Linked DNA regions of Homo sapiens: region 2 is linked to region 1. Evidence: promoter capture Hi-C in 16 types of primary human blood cells and fetal thymus (Javierre and others, 2016). All regions are on one chromosome and are shown on one strand. Each heading gives the region's core, a stretch centred on a gene start or on the middle of the fragment in contact. The rest is flanking DNA. Distances are from core to core; before and after follow the strand shown.

Region 1 (5,977 bases), core at 1,253-3,752:
TGCCTCAGCCTCCCAAAGTGCTGGGATTACAGGTGTGAACCGCTGCGCCTGGACTTAAAGTCATTCATCTTAAAGCACATAAAGACAGATGCAACTGAGTTTGTTATGCATCCTAACATCTATTTCATTGTAATAGGGAATTAAAACCTTTGATCAACTGAAAACAAAGGAATGATGAATTTTTTTTTGTTTTTTTTTTGAGATGGAATCTCGGTCTGTCGCCCAGGCTGGAGTGCAGTGGGGCGATCTCTGCTCACTGCAGGCTCCACCTCCTGGGTTCACGCATTTCTCCTGCCTCAGCCTCCCGAGTAGCTGGCTCTACAGGCGCCCGCAACTATGTCTGGCTAATTTTTTGTATTTTTAGTAGAGACAGGGTTTCACCATGTTAGCCAGGATGGTCTTGATCTCCTGACCTCGTGATCTGCCCACCTCGGCCTCCCAAAGTGCTGGGATTACCGGCGTGAGCCACTGTGCCTGGCCAGGAATGATGAGTTTTTGAAAAGACTTCATTGAGCTGGATGGTAAAGATGCCTTTCTGGGAACCATGAAATGAATGAATCTACCAAAGGTACTATGCTTTGATTTATTCCTCGCTGGATTCCAGGATTTCTGTGGATCTTCTCATCAATGTTGCTATGGTCTGAATATTTGTGTCCTACCAAACTCATAGGTTGAAATCTTAACTGCTAAGGTGATGGTATAGGGAGGTAGGGCCTTTGGGAGGTGAACAGGTCATGAGGGCTGGCCTCTCATGAATGGGATTAGTACCCTTGTAAAAGAGACCCCAGAGAGCTAGCCAGCCCCTTCTGCCATGTGAGAACAAAGAAGGCACCATCTATGAATCAGAAAGCAGGTCCTCACCGGACACCAAATCTGCTGGCATCTTGATCCTGGACTTCTCAGCCTCCAGGACAGTCAGAAATAAATTTCTGTTGTTTATGAGCTACCCAGTTGAGGGCATTTGTGTTAGCAGCCTAAATGGACTAAGATCTTTTTATCCTACTCATTCTTAGATCTTGTCGCTTTTGGTGGGTGTACTTATTCCACCTTTATAACAACACCTCTGCTGTGTGCTGTTAAGAATCTTCATTAAGGTAGCACCTTGAACCTACTTTATTTGGAAGCCTACACTAATTTTTGGCTTTCGATTCCCATTGCCCTCTTCAGGATTGTATTACAATTTGACAAGCAAACATCCTCTTCCACCTTCCAAAACAACTTTAGTACACACATTATAGAAAGGGAAATATGTTTGGTGCTTTTTTTTTTGAGACAGTCTCACTCTGTCACCCAGGCTGGAGTGCAATGGCGTGGTCTCGGCTCACTGCAACCTCCGCCTCCCGGGTTCAAGCAATTCTTCTGCCTCATCCTCCCGAGTAGCTGGGACTACAGGAGCGTGCCACCACACCCGGCTAATTTTTGTATTTTTAGTAGAGACGGTGTTTCACTATGTTGGCCAGGCTGGTCTCGAACTCCTTACCTTGTGATCCGCCTGCCTCCGCCTCCCAAAGTGTTGGGATTACAGGCGTGAGCCACCGCGCCCAGCCTGGTGCTGCTGTCTTATTTCTCATGAATATGAGCTTTCAAGGACAGGGACTTGATCTTTTTTTCCATTCCATAAAATGTTGATATGGCTAAACTTTGCAGGCTTTTAGGCGTTGTCATATATGCAATTAATTCCATGGGCACTTAATTTCATTCCCCTCACTGAAGGAAGGGGTTGTCTGAGACCACCAAGCTCTAATGTCTTACCAATCTGTTGCTTTCTCATTTTGTTCAACTTTTTTCTTGGAAAGAAAAACATTGAACATATCAAGATGAATCAGCCAAATATTGTACTGTGTGTGTGTTTTGGGGGTGGGGGGAGACAGAGTTGAAGTGGCAGAGGCAATGTAGGAGGAAAAGACAGGCTGACTAAAATACATAAATAGTACGTGAATTCTTTCGGGCCAGGGATCTGGGCCTACTTTGCCTGCATCATATTACCAGCATCTCAATTGTGTCTGGCACATAGTAAGTTTCAGTAAACATTTGTTGCACTAAGTGAAAGAATGAACTTTTCACTTTTTTCAGAGATGTGATTTGTGATTCTCGGAATCAACCAGGGTCCTAAGATGTCCTGGAGGCCGTCTCCATTTCTCTCGGTGAGCTAAGGTGTCCGAGTGGCACCAGTTCTCCACTCTTTCTGCGACCTGCAGGGAGTGGGATACGCTGTGGCTTTAGGGAGCTGGGAAAGGCGCTCTCTCCCGGTCCCGCTCTGCCCGGTCCCACGCCCCTCGGCCGTCCGGCTGCCTGGGTCTTCCGGGTTCTTCCGCCCCTCTGGCTCGGTCCCCGCTACCTCTCCTCCCTCCTCCCCTCTCGGTACCTTCGCCCGCCGCGCGCCTTTCTCAAATCCTCCGGTTATTAAGCAAGCTCAGGGGTCCGGTGGCCTGCCCTGGTAACTCTGCGCCCGCCCCTTCCTGCCCCCTTCCTGCCCTCACGCCCCGTCCCCTCCTCTTGACGTGGCAGAGGCGGCGCCAGCCATGTTGGCCGGGCGGAGGTCTTCGCTGAGGCCCGGGGCGGGGTGGCGCCACCCCTGATTGCGGTGCCACGGACTGCTCCTGCTGGGCGGAGAGGACAGATTTTGCAAAGCGGAGGCTGCGACGGGTCCTGCAGGGGGACAGTGAGGAAAGGGCCGCCTCGTCTCCGCTCCTGGGGGACCGCAGGTGCGCAGCGGGGAGCGGGGGCGGGCTGGCGGCGGCGGGCTGGGGGCTGGGATCCTGGGGTGGTCCCGGCTCTGCCCTCTCGGTGCCCCGGGGCCAGCGAGGTGTGCTGGAGGCTGAGGCCCGGTCCGGCGCGGGGAGCGTTGAGTGCTGAGCTTGCCACCCTCTCACCCACTTCGCTCTGCCGGGGCCGGGGGCCCGGCCTCCTCCAGCTCCCCTGGATTAGGTGGAAAGATGTGGAAAACGGTGGTTCGAGCATCTCGCCCAGCACCCACCCCCACCTCCTGGGCCACCCACCTCCACCCAAGTCCATCATCGCCTCTGGGCCCTTGGACTTACTGTTTCATTCCTTGCCAGATATGGAGTGTCCTAGACTTTGAACCCAATTGACTACGTCACCGTAATTCAGCCTTGGAAGTTAAAGGGGTTAAAGGGGAAAAGAGCTTGGTAAAGATAATGCCTTGGGTTTTGATTACAAAGAGTTCAGTTTTCCAGCAGGACCAGCCCTATCTCACTGGGCTTTCTTTCTACGGTAGGTAGTGTTTCCCGATTTGGTGGTAAAGGTACTGCCTGAGGAAGGTCATAGTAAATCTACATCAATCACTGAAGTGGGGATGTGGAATTCTCGTTTTCACTTGAACTCCCTCAACCTCTACCGTCCAAAGCCATGGATAACTAGCCAAATTAACTTGGTTTAAAAAGGTTTTAGATTTAAATATAAATGCATGTTGAGTTTTCCTTCTCTTTCTCCTCTGGTAGTGAATGAACATCATTTCAGAAGTCCAGCTATTTTTTTTTTTTCTGAGACGGAGTCTTGCTTTGTCGCCCAGGCTGGAGTGCAGTGGCGCAATCTCGGCTCACTGCAACCTCCGCCTCCCTGGTTCAAGCGATTCTCCTGCTTCAGCCTCCCGAGTAGCTGGGATTACAGGGGCGAGCTACTATGCCCGGCTAATTTTTGTATCTTTAGTAGAGACGGGGTTTCACCATGTTGGCCAGGCTGGTCTCGAACTCCTGACCTCAGGTGATCCGCCCGCCTCGGCCTCCCAAAGTGCTGGGATCACAGGCATGAGCCACTGCGCCCGGCCAGAGTCCAGCTATTTTTAATTGACTTACAGAATTTTAGAGTTAGATGGGACCTTGTGATTTTCTAGTCCAAGTCTCTTATTTTGCTGATGAGAAAAACAGGATTCAGAGAGGTTAATTGTCCAAGATCATAAGAAGACAATTCATTGAGGATTTTGGAAGTGAAAAGTAGGAGACAAATTTAATTGGCAACTAACAAATACATGTAATTGGAAGGAACTCAAATTTACTTGGCAAGTACATTTTCAATTAGATATGAATAAAAGGGCTTAAAATTAGAATATTGAAAAACTATCATAGGGAAAGTCTTTTTTGTTTTTTTTTTTTTTGAGACGGAGTCTCGCTCTGTCACCCAGGCTGGAGTGCAGTGGAACGATTTCGGCTCACTGCAACCTCCGCCTCCCAGGTACAAGCTAAGCTATTCTCCTGTCTCAGCCGCCTGAGTAGCTGGGACTACAGGCGACCGCCACCATGCCTGGCTAATTTTTGTATTTTCAGTAGAGACGGGGTTTAACCATATTGGCCAGGCTGGTCTCGATCTCCTGACCTCATGATCCACCCTCCTCGGCCTCCAAAAGTGCTGGGATTACAGGTGTGAGCCACCGCGCCCGGCCAGGGAAGTCTTACTTTTAAAAGACTTGGGCACATATTTGATATACTAGGTTAAAGTGACATAGTGGTTTGCTTCTTAGCTTTTAGCTCTATTATGATAAATTATTTAACCAAAGTATATTGTACTGAAATTGGACATTTCTTTGTAATAGTCTTTTGTGTTTTGTATCACTTTTTAAAAAAAATAAAGACTAGTGGCTGGGTGCGGCAGTTTACGCCTGTAATCCCAGCACTTTGGGAGGCCGAGGCAGGCCAATCACCTGAGGTCAGGAGTTCGAGACCAGCCTGGCCAACGTGGTGAAACCCCATCTCTACTAAAAATACAAAAATTAGCTGGGTGTAGTAGCTCACGCCTGTAATCCCAGCTACTGGGGAGGCTGAGGCGGGAGAATCGCCTGAACCCGGGAGGTGGAGGTTGCAGTGAGCCGAGATTGCACCACTGCACTCCAACCTGGGTGATAGAGTGAGACTCCATCTCAAAAAAAAAAGAGACTAATATGCTAAGTCTGCATTCTAATATAGTGTGTGGAATAATATTTCTTTGGTTTAATACTTTTATGCAAACATGTTAGTATTAGGGGAGAGAGTGCTTATCAAATAATATCATGTTATGAAAAGCTAGTTTGTGGCTGGGCATGGTGGCTCACACCTGTAATCCCAGCACTTTGGGAGGCTGAGGTGGGTGGATCACCTGAGGTTGGGAGTTCGAGACCAGCCTGACCAACATGGAGAAACCCCATCTCTACTAAAAATACAAAAATTAGCCAGGTGTGGTGGCTTATGCCCGTAATCCCAGCTACTCAGGAGGCTGAGGCGGGAGAATTGCTTGAATCCGGGAGGAGGAGTTTGCGGTGAGCCGAGATCACGCCATTGCACTCCAGCCTGGGCAACGAGCGAAACTCCGTCTCAAAAAAAAAAAAAAAGTTAAGTTGGCTTGTAAAAGGACTTTATTTCAGATATGCCATTGTCGGACATGGGACTAAGCCTGGCAAATTTTGTAATTGAATTCGTGATTTTAAGATTGCATGACTCCTACTATGGAAAGGTGAGGGAAGTCAGGGAAGTGTTGTGCATAGCCATGTAATTGGACCAATTGAGAAACAGGTGGGATTTTCTTCAAACTACTGCTGGAATGTGGGAATGTAAGAAGTATAATAGATGTGATTTAGCAAGCAAATTGATCTTAGAGCAGGGAGATTGAGAGGAAAAAATGTGAAGAAGAGAAGAGAGTTGTGCCCAGATATCACTCAGGTGATATTTAGTATGTCTTAATAAGAAGTAAGAATGTAGAGATACAATCCAGCCTTTTAACCAGTTGTAGAAAGTTAAACCTGGCTATTGTCTGTGTGTGAATGTCTTCCTGCTAAGACTCCTGGAACCTTTCTTAGTGAGGTTTCCTAATGGTCCTAAGGCAGTGGTTTTCAGAACCCCTAACTTAAACATTATTGAGTATCCAAAGAGAAAAAAAAAAGGCTAAATAGAAGACAGGTGGGTTTTCATATCTGTTTCTGCAGTTTATTGTGATATATTGTTTTGGTTGAATTGTATGAAGGATTAATTAATAAATTAAAAGGTTAATT
Region 2 (6,302 bases), core at 93-2,592, 5.8 Mb before region 1:
TTTTTTCTTATTTCTTATGGTATTTTATAGATGAGGAAACTGAGGCTCTTAGAGATAAACTAGTGTGTTGGAAAACTTGCAAAAAGTTCACTCTCAATATTAATCCTCTCCTACAGGTAGAAAAGCCCTTTAAAAATGTTTGTAAATGTGGATTATGTGTTTAATTATAAATCTCTCACAAGACATGGAGTTCATTTTATACTGATTAGGTCATTCTCTTCCTGAAAACAGCCATAGTATGGTGGATGACACCATTTCTGGAGAATAGTATTGAGATTGCTCATTAAACTCTGCCGAGTCTCAGCTAGATGGAGGAAGCATGGATTCCTTGAATACTTGGATAACTCACAAACATCACTGAGGCCTTTAACTGAAATTTCCATTCTGCATCTTTTCCACCGTCTTCAAAATCTGACATCTGAGTTGTAGGGTTTTTTTAGATATATTTACTGAAGTATAATTGGCATAGAATATATAGAGCATACTTAAAGTGTATAATTTTTATCAGTTTTGACATATGTATAACCCCTTAAACCATCACTGTGATCAAATGAGTATGCCCATCACACTTAAGTTTCTGCTTACCTACCGCCCCCCAACTCTGCCTTTTTTTTTTTTTTTTTTTTTTTTTTTTTTCAGAATCCTGATCTGTTACCCAGGCTGGAGTGCAGTGAATGATCTCGGCTTATTGCAACTTCCGCCTCCCAGGATCAAGAGTTTCTGGTATCTCAGCTTTCCGAGTAGCTGGGATTATAGACGTGCACCACCATGCCTAGCTAATTTTTGTATTTTTAGTAGAGGCAGAGTTTCACCATGTTGGCCAGGCTGGTCTCAAACTCCTGGCCTCAGGTGATCTGCCCACCTCGGCCTCCCAAAGTGCTGGGATTACAGGCGTGAGCCACCACACCTGGCCCTCATTCTCTTAGCAGTGTATTTTGAAGAGAAGTTTTAACTTTTAATAAAGTTTAATTTATTTATTATTTTATGGATTACATTTCTAGTGTTGTTTCTAAGAAATTTTTGCCTACCCCAAGCTCACAAAGAAATTTTCCTATGTTTTCTTATAAAAGTTTTATGTGTTCAAGCTGTACATTTAGATGTATGATGCATTGTAGTTAACTTTCTTATATAGTTTGAGGCATGTATCCAAGTTCATATTTGATGTATGGATACCCAGTCATCGCAGCAATTTTTTTTTTGAAAAGCCTGTACTTTTTCCACTGGGTTGCTTTTGTGCTTTTGTCAAAAATTAGTTGCGCAGCTTGGGCGCAGTAGCTCACGCCTGTAATCCCAGCAGTTTGGGAGGCCGAGGCGGGCGGATCACAAGATCAGGAGATCGAGACCATCCTGGCTAACATGGTGAAACCCCGTCTCTACTAAAAATATAAAAAATTAGCCGGGCATGGTGGCGGGTACCTGTAGTCCCAGCTACTTGGGAGGCTGAGGCAGGAGAATGGCGTGAACCAGGGGGGCGGAGCTTGCAGTGAGCCGAGATCACACCACTGCACTCCAGCCTGGGCGACAGAGCGAGTCTCCATCTAAACAAAAAAACAAAAACAAAAAAATTAGTTGCCCAATACCATTTTATAAACACTTTATTTATTTATTATCAATCATCAACCATATGTCACACAGTATGCTAGCAGTGGAGATATCAGTAAGTGTTCTTTGGTTGCAAAGACTGGAGACCAATATTGTTAATTTAAATAGGACATTTTTGGGGTTTTTTTTTGTTTTGTTTTGTTTTTTTTTTGAGACAGACTCTCGCTCTTTCGCCCAGGCCGGACTGCAGTGGCGCTATCTCGGCTCACTGCAAGCTCCGCCTCCCAGGTTCACGCCATTCTCCTGCCTCAGCCTCCCGAGTAGCTGGGATTACAGGCACCTGCCACTGTGCCCAGCTAATTTTTGTATTTTAAGTAGAGACGGGGTTTCACTGTGTTGGCCAGGCTGGTCTTGAATTCCTGACCTCAGGTGATTCACCCGCCTCAGCCTCCCAAAGTGCTGGGATTACAGGTGTGAGCCACTGCTCCCGGCCTTCTACTAGTCTCAATAAGTCCTCTTTAGAATTCAAATTATAATGCTCAGTTACATTACTAGTAAACTATTTTTAATCTCATTTTTCCAAAAGCTGAATTTTTGCTTTAAATCTATAAACTTTGTTGGTAGATGTTTAAAAAGGTCCAGACTCCACCACAACAGATAATCCAGTAATTATCCTGGGATGTAAAAATATCTGAAAAGATGAGAGGAAGACATTGATATCTGAACTTAAAGTTACAGAGCCTGTTTGGAGAGGCTATGTGACAGACACAACCAGCCCATAATTACCCCTCAATGAGAGGCCTTGAGAAAGAAATATCCTGATATCACTTTTCTCCTCCCTCTGATATAATGATGTGTTGTCATTATTTCTATTATTGTATACCGTTTGAAAGTGACACATTTTCTATCGCCCTTGCTTTGTTGATTGACAGTTCTGACAGTTTCCATGCTGGTTGACAAAACAAGTGATTCTGCAGTTGCATAAAGTTACATCTATTTTACTCCTGTCATTTGTGCTGTGCTTGCTGTACATTTTTACTGCTATATGGGAATTTAAGAAATAATTTTAAAGTGTTTATTATTATTATTAATTTATTTTTTGAAACAGAGTCTCACTCTGTTGCCTACCACACTGCAGCCTCATCCTCCCAGGCTCAAGGGCTCCTCCCACCTCAGCCTTCCAAGTAGCTGGGACTACAGGTGTATGCTACCATGCCCGGCTAATTTTTTTTGTATATTTTTTGTAGAGAAGGGGATTCACTCCATTGCCCAGGCTGGTGTTGAACTCCTGGACTCAAGCGATCTACCCAACTCGTCCTCCCAAAGTGTTGGGACTACAGGGATGAGCCACTGCGCCAGGCCAAATGAAAAAATAATTCATACTATCTTTGTTACCAGTCTTAAAATTTAAAATATACCCCATTTTATTTCATTTTTTTGAAACTTATCCTTTAAAAAATTGGTTTAAAGTCTTATTTTTCTGTTGGGTCTCATGTTCTTGGTAAAGTGGTCGTTAGATCAAGTTTGATGTACACAAATACCATTTATCTGTCTATCCTAGTACATTTGCTGAGCTCCCATCATGAACTTTGAGTCCCTGAGGATCTTGAAGTTAAGAAGGTTCCTGCTCTAGAAAATATGTAAGCTGTATAAACAACAATAACAATGAGGAAGGGCATGAAAATCTAATTTCTGTAACTCAATTCAATTCAGTCGATCTCATAGCCTTATTATCTGGGGAAAAATCAGAACACATAGGCCCTAAATTTAGTCATAAACTTTAGTCTAGATATATTTTCCAGAAGAAAGGGGTAGTCGTGGGGACTTAGCCCCAGAAGCAGCTGTCACTTGCCATTATATCAGACTCTGTTGCATTAAGCTTTCCAAAAATAGAATTCACATCTTCAAATTCCCGTATTCCTTTGGGTATCCCCAACAGACTTTTCCCCCAGTGAACAAACATTATGTTCTTACTTTTGACAATCATTTCAACTGTGATACAGGAATTTGGTTCTAAAAATTCAGGGACAGGATCAGCTCTTTCCAGCCCCTTCTAGCTCTAAATCTTAGGAAACAGTGGGTGCCACTTTTTCCCAATGTGAAGCCACATGGGCTGGGTCCTTTTTCTCCCTCAGATCACAGAAAGTAAAGTAAGCAAATAAGGGAAAAATCAGACTTTAGTTCACTAAAAGTGTTCTTTTTATTTGCCGACATGTTTAGTATTTCTGGTGCTCTTTATTCCTTTGCATATATCTAAGTTTCCCTCTGCTATCACTTCACTTCACTTTGAAAAAACTTGGTTTAACGTTTTCTGTAGTGCAGTCTGCTAGGATGGTTTTAAAAAATGGCTGCACACTCTTTTACATTGTTTCCATTGAGACATTGGGTCTTTGTTCCTTCTTCTTGAATCTGGGTAGACTAGTAGCCTTTGACCTACAGAGTACAGCAAAAATGAAACTCCGTGGCTTCTGAGGCTAGGTCATAAAAGAACATGCAATTTCTGCCTTATTCACTTGAATACTTGCTCTTAGAGCCCTGAACCATGATGTGAGAAGACCCCTATCCTGGAGAGGCTATATTCTGGTCAGCTGAGCAAGCTGAGCCCAGCCTTCTAGTCATTCCTGCCACAATGCCAGATATATGAGTGAAGGTCTCCAGATCCTCCAGACTTCCCATTCAGCAGATAAATACTGCTGATGACCTCCCTTGATACTAAAAGGAGTAAAATGCAAATCAAAACCACAATGAGACACCATCTCACACCAGTCAGAATGGCAATCATTAAAAAGTCAGGAAACAACAGGTGCTGGAGAGGATGTGGAGAAATAGGAACACTTTTACACTGTTGGTGGGACTGTAAACTAGTTCAACCATTGTGGAAGTCAGTGTGGCGATTCCTCAGGGATCTAGAACTAGAAATACCATTTGACCCAGCCATCCCATTACTGGGTATATACCCAAAGGACTATAAATCATGCTGCTATAAAGACACATGCACACGTATGTTTACTGTGGCACTATTCACAATAGCAAAGACTTGGAACCAACCCAAATGTCCAACAATGATAGACTGGATTAAGAAAATGTGGCACATATACACCATGGAATACTATGCAGCCATAAAAAATGATGAGTTCATGTCCTTTGTAGGGACATGGATGAAATTGGAAATCATCATTCTCAGTAAACTATCACAAGGACAAAAAACCAAACACCGCATGTTCTCACTCACAGGTGGGAATTGAAGAATGAGAACACATGGACACAGGAAGGGGAACATCACACTCTGGGGCCTGTTGTGGGGTGGGGGGAGGGGGGAGGGATAGCATTAGGAGATATACCTAATGCTAAATGACGAGTTAATGGGTGCAGCACACCAACATGGCACATGTATACATATGTAACTAACCTGCACATTGTGCACATGTACCCTAAAACTTAAAGTATAATTAAAAAAAAAAGATCACCCAGCTGAAACCTGCCCAAATCTCTCATTCTCTTAATCATGAGATATAATAAAATCATTATTGTTCTAAGCAACTATTTTTTGAAGCCCATTTATACATCATTAGATAAGTAGAACAGAATTTGGGGTGCCATTGTAATAAAAACCTAAAACATGAGCATTGCCTTTCGGACAAGATGTAAGGAAGAACTTGAAAGAGCTTTGAGGAGACTGTTAGTAGAATCCTGACAGGTATTGAGGAGGATGTCAATGAGGGCTTCAAGGAAAGTAAGGAAAATGTTATTGGAAGCGAGAGGAAAGGAGCCCCTTGTCATGTCATGGTAGATGGTTTAGCAAATGTGATAACATAGCAAATAGAAAATGTATTTAATGAACTGCTGTATCTGGCTTAGAGTACCAGGAAGAACTTTGAAAGTATCAACTGTTTTTTGTTTGTTTTTGAACTAGGTATCATAACATCTGGCTAGACAAATCTACACTAAATATTCAATTTTCAAACAGAATTTAGAAGAATTATGTAGGAACTAGATCTGAAAATGAAACTATTTCTTGTTGTTATTTTCTCCCAGCAGAAGATGCTCAAAGTAAGATAGAGCTGCAGGGCAAAGATCAAATCCTAAGGTCTTATTAGAAAAACATGAGTTCAAGGTAGACCTGAGTTCAAGGTAGACCTAAGTCCAAGGATGTGATTGAAAGCCTTTTGTTAAGAGTTCAGAAACAGATAAAAGACCTTGTAAGATTCTGTTAACTTAAATTCATGAGATGTACAAAGTTAGAAAAGAGAGTTTTATTTCTTATAAAGGGTTGCAGTTTGCAGGCTGGACATCCTGACAGGCCAGGAAGCACAGCCTCCAGCAGAGACAGAAAGCAAGCACTTAGAGGGAGGAAAGGGTGGAACAGGGATTTATGCCAAATGGGTTAGCTAAGTATACATAATCAACAGGTTATAGGAGGAGCTATGGATATTCACAAAGCGAGGCATGCAAGCATAGTAAGCAAACATGCATGTTACATGCATCCCATGTTCACTTTAGGGTGGAGACTTAACATTTAAATGCATTATTGAGTTGGGCCTCATATGTCAAAGGTGAAGGCACTCAGTACAGCCTTTGTAAACCAGCCAGAACCAGTCTACGGTCAGTGGTCTCTTATCAGGAGAAAGTTACTAAAATCAGCCTCTTGTCCAGTCAAAGCTACAGTTGTGGCTTGAAGAACAGAGGTGTCAGTCAGAGTCTGGTGGTTGATGAGCTGCAGTTGTTTTAGTATTGCTTACCTCAAGGCCAGTGCTTAATTA

What was found. The method cuts DNA at HindIII sites, captures the fragments that hold promoters and counts their contacts. A CHiCAGO score of 5 or more calls a contact.
Region 2: a contact is called between a fragment that was not itself captured here and the fragment with the promoter of SEC23A in region 1, in 10 of 17 cell types (total CD8 T cells, total B cells, naive CD8 T cells and 7 more). The highest score is 20.9, in total CD8 T cells.

The regions. Positions count from the first base shown.
Region 1 is chr14:39,099,760-39,105,736 of GRCh38, reverse strand. SEC23A (SEC23 homolog A, COPII component) reads left to right here and starts at 2,502. Exons shown (of 20, transcript NM_006364.4): 1 at 2,502-2,705. SEC23A-AS1 (SEC23A antisense RNA 1) reads right to left here and starts at 2,597. Exons shown (of 2, transcript NR_146545.1): 1 at 2,366-2,597; 2 at 1,925-2,192. RefSeq lists silencers at 2,287-2,516, 2,677-2,796, 2,817-2,896. The HindIII fragment of the contact is 19,881 bases long and covers 1-5,977 here.
Region 2 is chr14:44,889,893-44,896,194 of GRCh38, reverse strand. No RefSeq gene overlaps it. Among named protein-coding and RNA genes, the nearest start is that of DORIP1, 4.2 kb to the left of the region's middle. The HindIII fragment of the contact is 4,162 bases long and covers 1-3,423 here.